Regions from separate parts of the Homo sapiens genome. Here all the other regions are linked to region 2. Evidence: promoter capture Hi-C in human tissues and cell types (Jung and others, 2019). All regions are on one chromosome and are shown on one strand. Each heading gives the region's core, a stretch centred on a gene start or on the middle of the fragment in contact. The rest is flanking DNA. Distances are from core to core; before and after follow the strand shown. Region 1 holds the start of C8orf33 (chromosome 8 open reading frame 33). Region 2 holds the start of ZNF34 (zinc finger protein 34). Region 3 overlaps ADCK5 (aarF domain containing kinase 5).

Region 1 (4,185 bases), core at 380-2,879, 270 kb before region 2:
TAGAGCGAGGCCTGCAGACCCTTTGGCTCTTCTTTCTGGTGGCTCCATCTACAGGTTGCACCTGGGCTGAATAAGCAGCTGTCGGGGAGAGAAGCAGCGTATGTCAGAACTGAATAATAACAATTAACATTACCTGTACAGTTATGTTTGCCCATACAATTCTAACCACCTTGCATAAATTAACTGATTAATTCCTCAAATTTGTAAGGTTGATATTACTATCATCCCCCACTTAGAGAGGTTCAGTAGTTTGCAAAAGGTGTTAGTACTACTATGTGGTAGATCCAGGATTTGAACCTAGCTGATCTGGCCCCAGGAATTGCACTCAAACTGTTATGGGATATGGCTTCATTGCTAGTAGAGAAAGCCAAGACACAAAGACATGAGGCAGCTTTCCCCAACCCAGGAGCAGGACCAACATAGGACCATGCTCTTTCCCACTCCTCCCAGGGCCTCCCCGCTGCTTCCCAGGTTCAGTCCTAGGAAGAGGAAAGAGAGGTCCACGCTTTCTGTTTCCCTGCTCCCTCAGGCTTCCCTGAGCCCATCTCCTTCCCCCACCAGGCTTGTTGCTCTGGGCCTTCTTCCTTTCACCCCCTAGACACTTCCTCCTTAAGTTAGGCCTTCCTGAATCAACCAGTGGCTAGCTCCTCACCAGCTCTGAGAGCCCGCAGGGCCTCACGCCATTCGGCTTCCATCTGAGCCCTATAGTCTCCAAACAAGGAGTGCATCAGCTGCCTCTTCCGGGGCAAGGGCGTTCTTTTGCTGCGCAGGGTTCGGATTGCTCCAATAGCCTGCTCTTCTGCGAATAAAAATAAAGGACTAGTGAACACCTCTATTACTGACCTCCTACCACCCCGCCGCAAAGCCAACAACTCCATACTCTGCCAGCACCTGCAGGCCAGGCAGTGCCACTGTTCACATCCCCCAGCTCTACAGAAGGGTCCCTTACTCTGTTTCGGGGTGGGTTTCTGCCTCTTGAGGCCCAGCTCCAGTTGCTCCACACACCAAGCCAATTCCTGGGCCAACTGTTGTGCCTGTGATGGATTTGGGGAAGTGGCTGTGAGAGGGCACTGGAAAACCATAGCCGCCGGCCCCATCCCATGCCCCTCCCCGCCTTAACTCCGCGGACCCCAGATCACACGTGCCCGTGGATTCGCACCCGTGGATTCCACCCTTCCCGACCGAAGCCCGCCCTTGCCTGGGCCTCAGCGCTTAGGGGAACTTCTTCTGGGGCGAGTTTCTCTGAGGCCTTCTCGCCTCCATTTGCCACAGAGGCCCTGTTCCGCGTTTTCTTCTTATTCTTTTGTTTTTTCGACGCTGTGCCGCCTTCATCGCCCAACGGGTGCGCTCTGGAGTCAGCGTTACTGCACGTAGGTTGCTCTGGGCAGAGACAGACAGTGGAAGGATTCCGGGCGCTGGAAACTGGGCCGGGAAGCCGGGCTCCGCGGGACGCGCAGGGAGTACCCGGGCCTGGGGCCGCCGCTGCCTCCCCAGCAAGATGTCCCAGGGCCTGGAGAAAGGGGGGTAGCACGAGGGTCACCGAGAGCCGCCAACAATGCAAGGCCCAGCCACCCGCGCGTCTTCTCCACACCGCTCACCGCCATGCGCCGCAGTCGCCACCGGAACTACGCGGGGCGCAGAGTCCGACGCCGAATTCCGTCCTTCAAGAACGCGCCTGCGACTCTAGGTTCCGCGGGGCGCGGGCGGGGCGCGGGCGGGGCGCGGGCGGGGCGCGGGCGGGGCGCGGGCGGGGCGCGGGCGGGGCGCGGGCGGGGCGCGGGCGGGGCGCGGGCGGGGCGCGGGCGGGGCGGGGCGCGGGCGGGGCGCGGGCGGGGCGGGGAGCGGGCGGGGCGGGGCGCGGCTGGGGTGGGATGAAGCTGGGACGGGGCGAAGCTGGGACGCGCCTGGGACGAAGCTGAGATGGGGCTGGGGCGGGGCCTGGGGGTTCGGGGAAGAGGCTGAAGAGGGGTCTCGGAAGAACCCTTGTGAGCGAGTGATCGCGGGCGCTGACTACGTGCCCGGCACCTTTCCGGATAAAAGTTCAAAGCTCTCCACGAGGGTGTGTCTTCTCAAGGCTCACCTTTTGGTGGGGAGGGAAAAGCAAGTAAACAGCACGTGAGCAGCTACGGCGCAAGAGGGTGGTCGGCAAAGACCCTGGGAAATGGGGAAGAGCGAGGGTCAGGGCGCGGTCGTTTGAGAGGCCGGCGTCTCGGGACGTGGAGGCTCGGGTGAGGTCTGAGAGTTGGGAGGGCCCCCGTCATGGGCTTACTTCCGTTCTAACGCAGTGGGAAGTCGCTGCAAGATGTAAATCTGAAGAGTGGCATAATCGTAGACGTATGTTCTGCAGATCTCTCTGCTCTTGTGTAACGAGTGGGGCACATGGGGTGGAGGGACGTGGAGGGGTTTCAGAAGCAGACGCGGGAAGAGCCTTGGACAGGATATGGACGTGAGGGAGGGTGGCGGTATGGGGGAGAGGGAGAGCCCCATCCCACCACCTCTCTTCCCCTGGATGCTTCCCTCCCACTATACCTTGCTAGAGACCTGGGGTCACACACAACACTCGACCCCCGCCGATGGAGGCATGACAACCGAGAGGAATTGCGTAGGGGTTGAGGTGAGGCTGAGTAGGGTTTCAGGGGGGCAACGGGCTATGCCAGGAGGGTGGGTTGTGTTGCTTGAGAAGGTAAGAGTCCGAGATGTCTGATGATTCCTTTCGGGGACACAGGAGTGGAAAGCGGTGTTTCCTGAGACGGTGGGGTGGGAAGTGTTAGCTGCCTGGTCTGCAAGGTCTCGAAGGGTTACAGTTTGGTCATCACTGATAGTTATTTACTGCAGTGTGATACATTACTCCCAAAATTCGGCGGATTGGCCGGGCGCGGTGACTCACGCCTGTAATCCCAACACTTTGGGAGGCCGATGCGGGCGGATCACGAGGTTAGGAGTTTGAGACCATCCTGGCTAACATAGTGAAACCCCGTCTCTACTAAAAAATACCAAAAAATTAGCCGGGCATAGTGGCGGGCACTTGTAGTCCCAGCTACTCGGGAGGCTGAGGCAGGAGAATGGCATGAACCCGGGAGGTGGAGCTTGCAGTGAGCCAAGATCGCACCGCTGCACTACAGCCTGGGTGACAGAGCGAGACTCCATCTAAAAAAAAAAAAAAAAAAAAAACACGCAGAATTTAAACGGGACACGCAGTAAAGGAGATGCGGCATACAGTAATTTATTACAAAGGAGAAAGAATATTTGGAAAGTTAAGTGAACAATAGACAGTACACCCTGAGAGAGAGAGAGAGGATTGAGGGCCAGCTGCTCATAAGGTTGGGGCAGCAAAGACGCATGAGGGAGACTCCCTTTATGGGGGTCTTACATGATTATTCATAAGGAATTGGGAAGAGGTGCTACTAGTGAGTATGTTCTGGATGGTCCTCTGAGTGCACATGTGCGGTAGCTGTATGTTCTTACATGCTTGTTCATACAATGCTTCTTGTCATACAATGCTTGTTCTACATGCTGGTATATGATTGTTCGTACATGTCACATGTCTTATTAGCATCTTAAACCTCCAACCAGGGCTCTGTTTTTTACTATTATAATGAGCGAAAGGTCAGTCTGAGGACAGGTAAAATCAAAATGTACATGCTCTTTGCAGGGGAAATTCTCTACTGAAGATAGTTTTGCTTGAAAGAGCTTAACCACAATGTGAAGGCAGAGGCTTATTGTGCTGATTGCACAGTCACAACAGTTGCTGCATCCCGAGGACATGGTTACTTCCTTGACTACCTATCCTGCCTCACTTTCAATGCTCTGATTTTATCCATTACCTTCCTGACTCATATGCTATTTTTGTCTTGACTTCATTTCTATCTTTGTTTTTAAATCTGCCATATTAGACTTAATTCTATTTACAGTCAGTGTTTTCAAATATACAACTTTTGTTTTTCTTAGAGTCCATGTCTCACTCTGTCACCTAGGTTGTCCTGGGCTCAACTGATCCTCCCTCCTGCCTCAGCCTCCCAAGTAGCTGGGACCACAGGCATGCACCATCATACCAGCTAATTTTGTAATTTTTTGTAGAGATGGGGTCTCACCAGGATGCCCAGGCTGGTCTTGAACTCCTGGGCTCAAGCAATCTTCCCACCTCAGCCTCCCATGCCTGGCATCATTCCTTATATCTCAGTTCTG
Region 2 (4,173 bases), core at 696-3,195:
ACTGGGAACTTGGGATGGGCCCTGAAGGAATGTGGGACAGGCACCCTGTCTACAGCCAGGAAGCCATTCCTAGCCTGGCTTTTACCATTCTGTTCTGCATGCATTCCCACCCCGCCATGGTGGGGAGTGGTCACTGACTGGAGGGTTCTGGGTGCTTTTTCCTGTGGGTGGTGGGTGGGGCCTCATGCCTTTCCTCATTTTCTAGCCTGATAGTGACAGGTGAGGTTGAGGGTGGTGATTGAGTGTGGGGTCCCAGGTCACTGCTGGGATTGCTGAACAAAGGGATGAATGCATGCAGTGTGTGTATGGGGAATCCCAGACCACCCAAGTCCCTTCACCCACCCACCCAGAGCCCTACACTGGACTGGAGCTGGCACCAGCAGTAGGTTGGTCTGCTCCTTGAGTCCTGTAACTCCACAGCTTCGCAGGGCATGTAGCCCCCTCTTCCCTGGGGCAGAGAAACTAACCAGGAACAGCCCCCAAAGCTGCATTGATTACCTTAAAGCACATGGCCTTTCCCTGCTGGCAGGGGCTGATACTTTGGTTCTCTCTAGCTTTGGTAGTGATGAGGCTGACAGTGATGATTGAGTGGAATCAGGTTGGAAGTGTTGGGGAACCCCCCCTGCAATGGGAGGGCAAGTAAGCTGGTTTCCGTCACAAGGCAGAGTGGAGGGGCTTCCTGTTTGGCCATAGCCCATGGCATCTTGTCCCTTAACCATGATCCAATGAGGAGATCCCAGGACAGCATCCTATCAGCACTTTCACACGAGGAAGTTCCACCAGCGAATGCAGCAGCTGCAGATCACTGCCCCTAACAACACTCCTGTGGAACTGCAGCAGGCAGGATGAGGCACGGTCTCTCCCTATAGACTTGGTTGGAGGGTGCCTGGCAGGTGAGAATAGTCACCTTAGGCTTCCGTGGTCACTCCGGGATGACAAGTCCTAACTGGCTGCGCGGTGGTTCCTGGCTGTCATGGTCCACGCTGTCTCTAGAGAACCTTACCCCCCATTTCGTGATCTTGCTTTCCTGATCCTGCTGGTATGGCCCCACCTGTCTTTGGGCGCCCACCACACCTAGGCAGTGACCCAGCAGGGCCTGTTTATTTTAGACAGGCTCTCGCTATTGCCAGGCTGGTCTCAAGCCCCTGGCCTCATGTGGTCCTCCCACTCCAGCCCCGCCTCCCCGCCAGTAACTACGGGACCTGGTTTTGATCTCGTCATTCGCAGGGCCGGTCCCAGGGTCCCAGCTGACTTGTCGAGAAAGAATCCAGGAGGGCGGTGTTTCCTCCTGAAGGATGGAGGGGCATCTGGAAAGAGGGTTTTGGGAAAGCACTAGATGCTTAGCTTGGCCATAAGCGGTCACTGTTTTTCTGCTCCCTTCTGGGCAAAGTGGACGGCAGGGCTTGGCCGATGGACCGGCCATGAGGGAAAGTTTGTTCCAGAAGCAGCTCAGGCACCCGAAAAACCCTTTCTCCAGAGTGGACACTGGGCCCCATTTACAGGAGTTAAGGATGAGGAGCAATAGGTTAAACCCAAGACAGGCTTCTTTGGCCAGTAAGCATCCTTTCTTGGCCCTAAGGAAGGGTGCGGTTCCCGTTTCTCTGTAAATCGAAGGGCCTAGTTCTTGTTTGCGGCGCCTTTCGTGCATCATTAGGGAGAGAATTTCTCAGAAAAAGGGAAAGACTAATATGTTTTCGCCTCTGACCATCGCCCCAGTTCTGAGGCCTCTGGGCCGTGGCTTCGGACTGCCACCCGGTGGCAGCATTCCCGCTTTACGGCTTTGCCATTCGCGGGTCCCCGGAGCCTTACTGCAAGCCAGGGAGGTGGGCAGCCGACACGCGGCGTCCTAGCTTCCCAGAGCGGCCCGGACGGCGCCTCGGACCCAGACAGTCGGCTGACGTCACTTCCGGATCGGTTCCGATTGGCGGGGAGGGAGGGCCGAACGGGCGAGGTTGGGCTGCCGTGCTGCTCGGCGGCGCTGAGGTGAGTGTGAGCCCGGCGGGGGCGGGCGCGCGGGGCGCAGACCCTCCCGGCGCAGACCCTCCCCTGCGCGTTGCCCCTGTGCCCGGTCCTCTCGCGGTGCTGCAGGCGTGGGTCCGTCCCGCCATCAGCGGCACTTCCTGTTCGAGGGACCCCCCGGACAAGGCCCCGAGTACGGACTGCGCCTCGCCGCTCTCTGCCAGCCCTGGGGTCGCTCCTCACGGGGCTCCTTCCGCTCTCGAGCCCCTGACAACTCCCTTGCCCCACGCGGGGTCCCCTGGACTCCTGCCGCACAGAGCGGCTTCTGCGTCCCGATGCGCTCCAGACCCCTTGGTCCCAGCGGCCCGAGGCTTCCCATCCCGGCTCCCTCCCACGCTCCTCTCCTGTCAGCTTTTCAGGGGCGGGGCTCGTGCGTCTCGCGGTCCTCCCAGCCCTCTGCGAATGCCGCCCCTCCTGCCTTTAGCGTCCGCGCTCCGCCAGTGCTCCTCCCTCTGCTTGTGCCTTCCCTCCGCCCCACCCTCCTCGCTTCTGGCGCTCCAAGGCTTTTCTCCCCGCAGCCAGGCAGCCAGATTTTTGTTTCTCTTCTTTATTTTTTCTTTCTTTTCTTTTCTCTTCTCTTCCTTCTTTCCTTTCTCTCTCTCTTTTTCTGAGACGGAGTCTCGCTCTGTCGCCCAGGCTGGAGTACGATGGCGCGATCTCGGCTCAATGCACCTTCCGCCTCCCGAGTTCAAGGGATTCTCCTGTCTCAGCCTCCCGAATACCTGGGATTACAGGCGCCCGCCACCATGCCCAGCTAATTTTTGTATTTTTAGTAGAGATGGGGTTTAACCATGTTGGCCAGGCTGGTCTCGAACTCCTGACCTCAAGTGATCTGCCCGCCCCAGCCTCCCAGAGTGCTGGGAATACAGGCGTGAGCCACTGCGCCCGGCCTCGTTTTCTTATATCTCTACAAACCTAATACTGTTTTTGTCTCTTAAAAATCTACATATGTATGGCAGAGCACGGTGGCTCACGCCTGCAATCCCAGCACTTTGGGAGGCCAAGGCGCGGGGGGGATCACTAGGTCTGGAGATCGAGACCATCCTGGCTAACCCAGTGAAACCCCGTCTCTACTAAAAAATACAAAAAAATTAGCCGGGCGTGGTAGCGGGCGCCTGTAGTCCCAGCTACTTGGGAGGCTGAGGCAGGAGAATGACGTCAACTCGGGAGGCGGAGCTTGCAGTGAGCCAAGATCCCGCCACTGCTCTCCAGCCTGGGTGATGGAGCAAGACTCCGTCTCAAAAAAAAAAAAAAAAAAAAAAACTACCTATGTATTATACTGTGTATATTCTGTACCTGACAGTTTTTCTCAGCCTTATAACTGTGCTCTATCTCCTTGACATTACTTTCCACCACTCTGACTTTGCTGATGGACGCTGAAGTTTTTTCTTCTTCTACACAGGCACATGGTAACATTTTTGTGTTTCTTTTTGTGTGCATTAGCAAGAGTCTCCATAAAGTACATACTTCGAGTGGGGTTTCCCCACTGAGAGTTTTGCAGGGTTTCAGTTCTACCAGGTAGGGCCAGACATATTTCTAGAGTGTCTACCAGTTTACAGTGTTCTGAACATTTGGTATTATGAAGTATTTTATATTTCCCCAATCTGTGGGGAGAGTCTTGTTTTACTTTACATTTTTTCTTAATTAAAAAATTAGAGATGGGGTTCTCACTATGTTGCTCAGGCTAGAGTGCAGTGGCCACTCGCAGGCGTGATCCCACTACTGATCAGCACAGGAGTTTTGACCTGCCCTGTTTCCCACCTGAGCTGATTCACCCTTCCTTAGGCAATATGGTGGTCTCCTGCTCCCCGGATGTCACCATATTGATGCCGAACTTAGTGGGGACACCCAATTGGCACAGCAGCACTACAGCCCAGAACTCCTAGATTCAAGTGATCCTCCTGCCTCAGCCTTCTGAGTAGCTGGGACTACAGGGTTTGCCAGGTCATATCCTGTGTTCATTTATTAAAAATTGTGACATTTTTCTAATTTAAAAATGTTTTAAATATATTCTGTATATTTATACTTTGTTATGTGTCTGCAAATATCTTTCACTCTGCAGCTTGTCTGCTTGCCTTTTATCTTTGTGGTGTCTTGTACAGAATCCTTTTTCTTTTTTTTTTTTTTTTTTTTTTTGGCAGGGTCTGGCTAAGG
Region 3 (4,185 bases), core at 187-2,686, 400 kb after region 2:
CCCAGCTGAAGCCAAAGCTGGGGTGCATGACCTCAACGAGCCGCAGCAGGAGCTCCAGGGTGTGGATGTCCCCATCAAAGCGGTCCCGCAGGTCGATGTACTGCACCTGCACTGGGCGAGGGTGTGGTGAGAACTTGGGGCCCCACTGTGCCCCGCCCCAGCCCACTGCTGAACAAGGCAGCCCCCATATACCTTCACAGCCACGCTGGTGCCATCGTGCAGCTTGGCTCTGTGCACCTGTGCCAGGCTGGCGGCAGCAATTGGCTGGTAGTCAAACTCCTGGAAGAGCTCGTGGGGGAGGGCCTGGAAGTCCTCAAGGAACAACTCATCCACCTGGAAGGACAGGTGCTCAGAGCAGCCTGGGGCCACTGCTGGAGGCCCCACCTCCCTCGGCCTGAGCGCACACTCACCTCCTGGAAGCCCCGCTTGAGGGCCCTGTCCTCTAGCACGCGCAGGGTCCGGGTATACTCGGGGGGAAGCAGGTGGTTGAAGGAGCACAGCCCCTGGCCCAGCTTCACGTAGAGGCCCCCGTTGCTGATGGCCCCTGCCACCAGGGCATCAGCCGCCCGCTGGTGACACGCAGACATCACCTCCAAGTAGCCTGGGCTGTTCTGACCACAGGCATGGGGAGAACACATGGGGACAGGTGGCTGCCTCCTCAGTCCCACCCAGCCCACCACCTCATGCCCACCACTGTGTGCCCAGGGCACCAGGACAAACCTCTTCCACCCCTCGAAGGACAACATTGGTGCACCACCAGTAGTCCAGGGAGATCTGCAGGCCGACCTTCAGAGACCTGCGGGCAGAGGTGGCCTCAGTCTCCAGCGGGGCAGGCTCGGGGCCCCGGTGCTTGGTCCTCTTGTCAGAGCCCTCATGGTCTAGCCTCACCCCGGCCAGCCCTTCATGTCCCAAGGGTGAGGCCAAGCCAGGGTCCAGCCTACAGCCGCGTAGGCCTGTGTGAGCACAAGGGGTGCTGCTGAGCTCGTGGGGTGTCCTGTGGCCCTGCAGGTCAGTCTCAGCTCAAGATCAGTAGAACGGGGCCAGGTGTGGTGGCTCATGTCAATTATCCCATCACATTGGGAGGCTGTGCTGGGAGGATCACTTGAGCTCAGGAGTTCGAGACTGGCCTGGGCAACATGTTGAAACCCTGTCTCTACCAAAAATGCAAAAAAATTAGGCAGGCACGGTGGTGCACACCTGTGGTCCCAGCTCCTCAGGAAGCTGAGGCAGGAGGATCGTTTGAGCCTAGGAGGTGGAGACTGCAGTAAGCTGAGATTGCACCACTGCACCCCAGCCTGGGCAACAGAGCGAGACTCCGTCCAAAAAAGATCTGCAGAGCTGGGCACAGTGGCTCACGCCTGTAATCCCAGCACTTTGGGAGGCCGAGGTGAGTGGATCACCAGAGGTCAGGAGTTCAAGACCAGCCTGGCCAACATGGTGAAACCCCATTTCTACTTAAAATACAAAAAAATTAGCCGGGTGTGGTGGTGCACACCTGTAATCCCAGCTACTCGGGAGACTGAGGCAGGAGAATTGCTTGAACCCGAGAGGCAGAGGTTGCAGTGAGCCAAGATCGCGCCATTGCACTCCAGCCTGGGCAACAAGAGCGAAACTCGGTTTCAAAAAAAAAAAAAAGAGGCTGGGCTTGGTAGCTCACACCTATGATCCCAGCACTTTGGGAGGCCGAGGCGGGCAGATCACAAAGTCAAGAGATTGAGGCCATCCTGACCAACATGGTGAAACCTAGTCTCTACTAAAAATACAAAAATTAGCTGGGCATGGTGGTGCGTGCCTGTAGTGCCAGCTACTCAGGAGGCTGAGGCAGGAGAATCACTTGAAGTCAGGAGGCGGGTTTCGGTGAGCTAAAATTGCGCCACTGCACTCCAGCCTGGCGACAGAGCGAGACTCCGTCTCAAAAAACAAAAAAAGATCTGCAGAATGGGCAGCCTGTGTCCATGCCACCCTCACTCCCTGCCACCCTCAAGGGTGCCCAGGTGAGATGGGGTAGGGGACAGTATGGACGGTGGCATCCTCTGGAGAGATGGGGTTCCAAGGCTGTCTGTGAAGGTAAAGGATGGCAGCAAGGGGGCAGGGCTGAGGCAGCAGAGGTCACAGGAGGGTCAAGGTCACCTGCAGCCTGAGGTCCACTAGGAAGAGAGGAGGACACCAGGAGGGTGGGTCTCCAAGGCCTGGGGAGGCAAGGTCTGCAGGGAAGAGAGCCCAGTTAAGGCAGGAAGTGGGGGACATCCTGGGTATCTGTTGAGCAGGTACTGGGCTCCTGGGGGAGATTTAGGCAAGAGGATGGGGTAGAGGGGTGTCCCCAGGCCTGGCCCCAGTTAGGAGGATATCAGGGTGGGAGCCCTGGGAGAACTCTGGGGACCAGCTGGGCAGCCCTGGAATGAGGCGCCAGGCAGCGGGCAGACCACACACAGGTGCACAGGGAGGGGCTGAGGTCAGAGTGGCTTCTCCAAGGCTGGCCATGGCCAGAGGCCTGTCCCTGCGTTCTGTGAAGCTCACGTACCTGCCTGGGGACAGGGCCCACAGTCATTCCTGAAGCGCAGCTCTGGCGCTCAGGTGGACTCTGTGTCCCCCATCAACCCAGGGCGACCCCCCGGCCATTCAGGCCCCACTCTGGCCCCCGTAGAGCATCTGGAGTGCGTGCTTGGGTTAGGCCAGGGTTTCGGTTTCTTTTTTTTTTTTTTTGGAGACGGAGTCTCGCTCTGTCGCCCAGGCTGGAGTGTGGTGGCGATCTTGGCTCACTGCAGGCTCCGCCTCCCAGGTTCACGCCGTTCTCCTGCCTCAGCCTCCAGAGTAGCTGGGACTACAGGCGCCCAACACCACGCCCGGCTAATTTTTTTGTATTTTTAGTAGAGATGGGGTTTCACCGTGTTGGCCAGGATGGTCTCGATCTCCCGACCTCGTGATCCGCCCACCTTGGCCTCCCAAAGTGCTGGGATTACAGGCGTGAGCCACCGTGCCCGGCTCTAACTTTTCTACTATTAAAATTTGTTATAGTAAACACAACACTTTTGTAACAAAACTTAAAGATGTGAAAAAGTCCCACAGACTTGTGCTTGGGGGAGAAGGAATTTAATTTTTTTTTTTTTTTTGAGATGGAATCTCGCTCTGTCGCCCAGACTGGAGTGCAGTGGCACAGTCTAGGCTCACTGCAACCTCCGCCTCCCAGGTTCAAGCAATTCTCCCGCCTCAGCCTCCCGAGGAGCTGGGACTACAGGTGCCCACCACATGCCCAGCTAATTTTTCTATCTTTAGTAGAGATGGGGTTTCTCCACGTTGGTCAGGCTGGTCTCGAACTCCTGACCTCGTGATCCGCCCTCCTCGGCCTCCCAAAGCATTTTCACATTGCATTTCACATTGCCTCACAGAGCATTTTCAACATTGCTGTATGTTTGAAGTTTTTCACAAAATGTTGGAGGCCGGGTGTGGTGGCTCACACCTATAATCCCAGCACTTTGGGAGGCCAAGGCGGGCGGATCCCCTGAGGTCAGGAGTTCAAGACCAGTCTGACCAACACAGAGAAACCCGCCTCTACTAAAAAATACAAAATTAGCTGGGTGTGGTGGCGTGTGCCTGTAATCCCCAGCTACTAAGGAGGCTGAGGCAGGAGAATCGCTTGAATCCAGGAGGTGGAGGTTGCAGTGAGCGGAGATCCCACCATTGCACTCCAGCCTGGGCAACAAGAGTGAAACTCTGTCTCAAAAAAAAAAAAAAGTATCAATGAGTGCTAAACTGCTGGGTGGAGGCCAGGCGCAGTGGCTCATGCCTATAATCCCAGCACTTTGGGAGGCTGAGACAGATGGATCACTTAAGGTCAGGAATTCAAGACCAGCTTGGCCAACATGGAGAAACCCCATCTCTACTAAAAATTAAAAAAAAATTAGCTGGGTGTGGTGGCAGGTGTCTGTAATCCCAGCTACTGGGGAGACTGGGGCTGGGAGAATTGCTTGAACCCAGGAGGCAGAGGCTGAAGTGAGCCAAGATGTTGCCACTGTACTCCAGCCTGAGTGACAGAGCAAGACTGTCTCAATAAATAAATAAAGAAACAAACAAACTGCTGGGTGGAGGAGCAGTGAGAACAGACACATCATCTCAACTGCCTCCATACGGCTAATTACAAGGGAATCAAATGGGGGAAACCGAAATCATGTGCCCCCGGCAGGACAG

The links. The method cuts DNA at HindIII sites, captures the fragments that hold promoters and counts their contacts. A contact is called where the count stands out against the background at its distance.
Region 1: the fragment with the promoter of C8orf33 here is called in contact with the fragment with the promoter of ZNF34 in region 2 in 3 of the 25 tissues and cell types used here (aorta, lymphoblastoid cells and small bowel).
Region 3: a contact is called between a fragment that was not itself captured here and the fragment with the promoter of ZNF34 in region 2, in 2 of the 25 tissues and cell types used here (lymphoblastoid cells and spleen).

The regions. Positions count from the first base shown.
Region 1 is chr8:145,049,911-145,054,095 of GRCh38, reverse strand. It overlaps C8orf33 (chromosome 8 open reading frame 33), which reads right to left and starts at 1,629. Exons shown (of 5, transcript NM_023080.3): 1 at 1,599-1,629; 2 at 1,199-1,510; 3 at 950-1,034; 4 at 653-799; 5 at 1-78. The coding sequence starts at 1,604. RefSeq lists enhancers at 255-1,055, 1,984-2,033, 2,074-2,203 and a silencer at 1,704-1,773. The HindIII fragment of the contact is 15,142 bases long and covers 1-4,185 here.
Region 2 is chr8:144,785,089-144,789,261 of GRCh38, reverse strand. It overlaps ZNF34 (zinc finger protein 34), which reads left to right and starts at 1,945. Exons shown (of 6, transcript NM_001286769.2): 1 at 1,945-1,983. It also overlaps the pseudogene RN7SL395P. RefSeq lists enhancers at 1,377-1,436, 1,477-1,706 and a silencer at 1,857-2,216. The HindIII fragment of the contact is 13,629 bases long and covers 1-4,173 here.
Region 3 is chr8:144,387,282-144,391,466 of GRCh38, reverse strand. ADCK5 (aarF domain containing kinase 5) reads right to left here. Exons shown (of 15, transcript NM_174922.5): 4 at 721-796; 5 at 411-611; 6 at 193-333; 7 at 1-106. Among named protein-coding and RNA genes, the nearest start is that of MIR939, 4.9 kb to the left of the region's middle. RefSeq lists an enhancer at 2,517-3,018. The HindIII fragment of the contact is 8,607 bases long and covers 1-4,185 here.